2 separate regions of the Homo sapiens genome follow, and region 2 is linked to region 1. Evidence: promoter capture Hi-C in 16 types of primary human blood cells and fetal thymus (Javierre and others, 2016). All regions are on one chromosome and are shown on one strand. Each heading gives the region's core, a stretch centred on a gene start or on the middle of the fragment in contact. The rest is flanking DNA. Distances are from core to core; before and after follow the strand shown. Region 1 holds the start of MLEC (malectin). Region 2 overlaps P2RX4 (purinergic receptor P2X 4).

Region 1 (2,670 bases), core at 57-2,556:
GTTTTTTGTTCATGTAGCACAAAGCTCATTGCCTAAGTAGTAGGTAGGATTGGTAGATAAAATACAAGAAGTCCAGTTGTTTAAATTTTAATAAACAATGCATTTTTTTTTTTAGTATAAGTGGGTCCCATTTGCTTATCTGAAATTCAAATATAACTGGGCTTCTCCTATTTTATCTGCCAAATCTGACAACCCTGGTAGCAGGGACTTGATACATTTTTTTCCTTTTAGGGAGAATTTCTAAATCGACCAGTATTTATGGAAAATGCATAAGCGTTTTTTTGTTTTTTTTGTTTTTGCCTTGACTCTGCCCTACACTTGCGGTGCGACCCTTTGGCAAAATTCAGTCCCTTTCTATGCCTCAGTTTCCCCATCGGAAAAATGGGAGTTTGAACAGCGACCGAAGCGCAGGGATCGCCAGTGTGGGAGAGCGCCAGGTGAACTGTGAAGGAGCAGGGAGGGAGTTCGGGCCGTGCCCGTGCGGGACAACCCCGGTATCCACTCTGGGCACCGCCGGCGGCGACTCCCGCCAGCGCCTAGGGTGCCTCGGTCCCGCCCCTACGCAGCGGAGGCCGGCCAGAGGCCGTCGCCATGGAGACGCGAGCAGCCTGGCACCCACTCGCTCTCAAAGCCACGCGTTTCCGCTGCGTTGGAGCCTTCTCATTGGACGGCCGTCTGGACGCTACCACCCGCCCCGAGCCCGCTAAGGGGAGGGGGCGGGGCCTTATTCTCATGGGATTCGTTCCCTGGAGACCTGTGTCCGCGGCCTCTCTGGGAAAGCATGGGTCCTCTCCCTCACGCGGGGAAAAGGACTGCGTCTCTTAGGTCTGGAGAGTGTCCATTGCTTCTCCTACTAGAATTTATGCTCATGCTGCTCCCTGAGAAAAGAAGAGGGGGCGGGAAAGTCGGCCACGCCCCCTCCAGAGCCTATTTGGTCTCAGGAGCTAGAGCACCGGAAGTGCTGGCGACATGTCAGTGCGCCCTACCCTAAACCTTCCCCCCCCAGGCCACCTTTCCCATTCAGCTGTGGGATTCCGGGGCCGCCTGGGCGCTGCACCCGCCACTTCCGCATCGAACCGCCGCTTCAACCGAACTCACTCCCTCTGCGCGCGCTCCATCTGGTGCCCGACTGCTGGGCCGGCGCCTGGGAGAAGCCACGCCCTTTCCCGCGCCTGACAGCCAATGAGCGGGCGCCTCCCGGCGGGGTGGTGGGTAATTAATGAGGGCCGGGCGCTGATTGGCTGCAGCGTCGTGGCCGGGGGCAGGGCGGCGGGGTAGGTTGTTCCTGAGGTGGGAGGCGGTACCCGTGGCTGAGAAGAAGGAGGCCTGAGAGCGACATGTCCCCGGCGGCTCAGGCGGAGCGGCCCGTGGCGCTGTTTTTCTGAGTCCGGGGTGGCCTGGCAGCCGGCCGAGGACGAGGGTCGGCGGGGGCTGCCCCCGTGGTGGTGGCCGCCATGCTGGGAGCCTGGGCGGTTGAGGGAACCGCTGTGGCGCTCCTGCGACTGCTGCTGCTGCTGCTGCCGCCGGCGATCCGGGGACCCGGGCTCGGCGTGGCCGGCGTGGCCGGCGCGGCGGGGGCCGGGCTGCCCGAGAGCGTCATTTGGGCGGTCAACGCGGGTGGAGAGGCGCATGTGGACGTGCACGGGATCCACTTCCGCAAGGACCCTTTGGAAGGCCGGGTGGGCCGAGGTGAGAGTCCCCCTGCCGAGCCGCGGGATCCAGGGCCTGCTGTGCTGGGCGCAGCCGGCCGGGGGCTGCGGGCCCCGAGCCCCTTTCGACCCTGGGGCCGCGTCTCTGGAGCGAAGTTTCTCTCTGCAGCTTCTTCGGGGGCCCGCTCTGAGCTCAGGGCCTGGCACTGGCTCCAAGGTACCTAGAGTCATACAGGCAGAGAGTTGGCCAGAAGTTAGTTATATTTGGATTTCTCATCCTGCATTTTCTCAACCCCTCACTCCCATCCAAGCTGGGAGAGAAATGACGAAGGCGGCCTTTTGCTACCTCCAGGCCTCGCGGGTTGTAGGTCATGGGTGCCCCTGCTTCTCCTGTCGAGACAGTTCTTGGGAGATTCTCGTCGACCCAGGAATCGGCCGCTTTCCTTGCCCCTTCTGCAGGAGCGGGGCTTGATTCTTAGCCAGAATAGGAAGGAATCTTCGAAGAGAATGGGCCAGGAAAGTTTGATTGTAGCCTCCTCCCCCGCCCTCTTTTCGAGCGAAGAATATGTGTGCTTAAAAGTAGAATCGGCAGGCCGCCCCCAGAGGGTGGTTCTATCGAAGCCATCCTGCACGTGAGGCTGGTGGCTGTGTGTGAACTGGGTCAACCAGTGTAAGAATCCGAATGGTCTATCAGAGAATGCTTACAACCTCCCCTAGGTGATCCTGAGAGTTCTAATTCCAGCTTAGGGGGAAAATGATTGTGACTTAACTTGCTGGGCAACAGTGGTTTTTAACGGAGCTGCTCCCTTCCCAAAGTTAGTGTGTGTCAGAATTGCCAGGGCAGCTGGTTAAAAATGCAGATTCCTAGTCCCCACTCGAAATTGATTATAGTAGATTGAGCTTTTTTGCTGGGATCCAGGTTTCTGCACCAGGGGCTTGTGATGTAGGTTGCCCCGAGACCACCGTTTTGGAAGATCAGCTTTATAATCTTTGTTTCTTCTGTTGGAGGGATTGGAAAACA
Region 2 (2,670 bases), core at 125-2,624, 530 kb after region 1:
GGTTTCAGGCTGGTCCTGAACTGACCTCAGGTGATCCGCCCACCTCAGCCTCCCAAAATGCTGGGATTACAGGCGTGAGCCCCCACGCGGGGCTGGCACCTGTTACAATTGAATACAACGCGAGAGAGAAGATGATAATTACCTTGCCACCTGGGGCCACTTTAAAGGCTTACCTGGGGTGTTCTGGTGTCTACAGCTGCTGGGCTGACACGTATTGCCTAGTGCAGTGGTCTCCAAACTGCACATTGGAACCATCTGGAAATCTTTGGCTCCCATCCCCAGACCCTTTTTTATTTTTTTGATGGAGTCTCCCTCTGTCGCCCAGGCTGGAGTGCAGTGGTGCAATCTTGGCTCGCTGCAACCTCCACCTCCCTGGTTCAAGCGATTCTCCTGCCTCAGCCTCCTGAGTAGCTGGGATTACAGGCACCCACCACCATGCCCGGCTAATTTTTGTATTTTTAGTAGGGACAGGGTTTCGCCATGTTGGCCAGGCTGGTCTCGAACTCCTGGCCTCAGGTGATCCACCCGCCGCAGCCTCCCAGAGTGCTGGGATTACAGGCGTGAGCCACCGCGCCCAGACGCATCCCCAGACCTTCTGATTTAATTGCTGCAGAGTATGATCGGCTGCCCAGGTGATTCTCATGTTCAGCAACGTTTCGGAACCAATGAACTGTGTTTCCCAAGTTTACCTGATCATGGAAGACTCATCTGAGGAATTGTTTAAAAGTAACAGATCCCCCCGTCTTTGGGGTGAGGTTTGGAATCTTAACACTGCCCAAGGGAAGCCCAAGCAGGTTTGGCTTCCAATATCTGTCAGCAGCAGCAGTAGATACAGACAGTATTCAAGAGGATGGCTTTCCAGGTGCAGACTCAACATCAGAACCACCTGGCCCACACCCAGATTTGGACTCATTGGCTCACACCTGTAGTCCCAGTGCTTTGGGAAGCCAAGGTGGGAGGATTGCTTGAGGCCAGGAGCTCAAGACCAGCCTGGACACAAGACCAGCCTGGACAACATAGCGAGACCCCATCTCTAAGAGAAAAATAAAGTTTAAAATGGTAAATTGTACTGATGGAGCAGTGCAAAAAAAAGAATTTTTTTTTTTTTTTTTTCTGAACACGGTGGCTCATGCCTATAATCTCAGCACTTTGGGAGGCCGAGGCGGGTGGATCACCTGAGGTCAGGAGTTCGAGACCAGCCTGGCCAACATGGTAAAACCCCGTCTCTACTAAAAGTACAAAAAATTAGCCAGGCCTAGTGGCTAATGCCTGTAATCCCGGCTACATGGGAGGCTGAGGCAGGAGAATCGTTTGAATCCAGGAGGCGGAGGTTGCAGTGAGCCCAGATTGCGCCACTGCACTCCAGCCTGGGCAACAAGAGCAAAACTCCATCTCAAATATATATATATATATATATATATATATATATATTTTTTTTTTTTTTTTGGAGACTCACTGCTAGCCAGTTAACTGAACTCACATCCCTGGTTGGACCTGAAGCATTTGGGGGCAGGAGCTCCCCTGCAGCTTTTTGCTTTTGGCGTTTGCTGCTAGTGGGAGGATCAGTGCACATCTACCTTAGGGTACCTGTAAAATTACAACTGCGGAAAATATCCATAGTGGTGTTGCACTGTATGGTAGCCACTAGTAACTTGCACCTGTTGAACACTTAACCGTTCCTACTCTACACTGAGATGTGCTATAACCTTAAAATACACACTGGATTTCAAAGACATAGTACAGAAAAAGAGGCTGGGCACAGTGGCTCATGCCTGAAATCACAGTACTTTGGGAGGCTGAGGTGGGAAGATCGCTTGAGCTCAAGAGTTTGAGACAAACCTGGGCAACATAGCGAGACCTTGCCTCTACAAAAAAATACAAAAATTAGCCTGGCATGGTGGCACACGCCTATAGGCCTACCTATTTGGGAGGTTGAGGCAGAAGGACTGCTTGAACCTGGGAGGTTGAGGCCACAGAGAGCTGTGATCACACCACCCTCCAGCCTGGGCAACAGAGCAAGACACTGTCTCAAAAAAACAAAGAGTACCACTATCACATGAAAACATTTTTTATTGATGACATGTTAAAATATTTTGGATATATTGGGTTACACAGAATATATCATTACAATTAATTTTTCCTGTCTCTTTTTTCTTTTTTTCTTTTTAAACGGCGCCTTGCTTTGTCACCCAGACTGGAGTGCAATGCACTGCAACCTCTGCCTCCCAGGCTCAAGTGATTCTACCATCTCAGCCTCTGGAATTATGGGACTACAGGTGCACACCACCATGACTGGCTAATTATTGTGTTTTTGTTTGTTTGTTTGTACAGATGAGAAATCTCATCTCTACAATCATGAGGTTTCCATGTTGCCCAGGCTGGTCTCGAACTCCTGAGCTCTAGCAATCTGTCTGCCTCGGCCTCCCAAAGTGCTGGGATTACAGGCATGAGCCACCGTGCCCAGCCCTTTCTATTTCTTTTTACTTTTTGACATGGCTACTAGAAACTTTTAAATTACAGGGTCTTGCCCTGTGGTAGCTCACGCCTGTAATCCCAATACTTTGGGAGGCTGAGGCAAGTGGATCCCTTGAGCTTAGGAATTTTGAGACCAGCCTGGGCAACGTAGTGAAACCCCATCTCTACCAAAAATACGAAAAATTAGCTTGGCAT

Evidence for each region. Contacts are between HindIII fragments. The CHiCAGO score rates a contact against its expected background, and 5 or more counts as called.
Region 2: a fragment that was not itself captured here is called in contact with the fragment with the promoter of MLEC in region 1 in 1 of 17 cell types (naive B cells); the score reaches 5.0 in naive B cells.

Annotation. Positions count from the first base shown.
Region 1 is chr12:120,685,843-120,688,512 of GRCh38, forward strand. MLEC (malectin) reads left to right here and starts at 1,307. Exons shown (of 5, transcript NM_014730.4): 1 at 1,307-1,689. The coding sequence starts at 1,455. It overlaps LOC105370029 (a long non-coding RNA gene), which reads right to left and starts at 1,307. Exons shown (of 3, transcript XR_945449.3): 1 at 1,012-1,307. RefSeq lists silencers at 426-525, 1,366-1,665 and enhancers at 686-795, 886-1,015, 1,110-1,611. The HindIII fragment of the contact is 12,504 bases long and covers 1-2,670 here.
Region 2 is chr12:121,211,395-121,214,064 of GRCh38, forward strand. All of the region lies in intron 1 of P2RX4 (purinergic receptor P2X 4), which reads left to right. Among named protein-coding and RNA genes, the nearest start is that of P2RX4, 2.6 kb to the left of the region's middle. The HindIII fragment of the contact is 3,683 bases long and covers 1-2,670 here.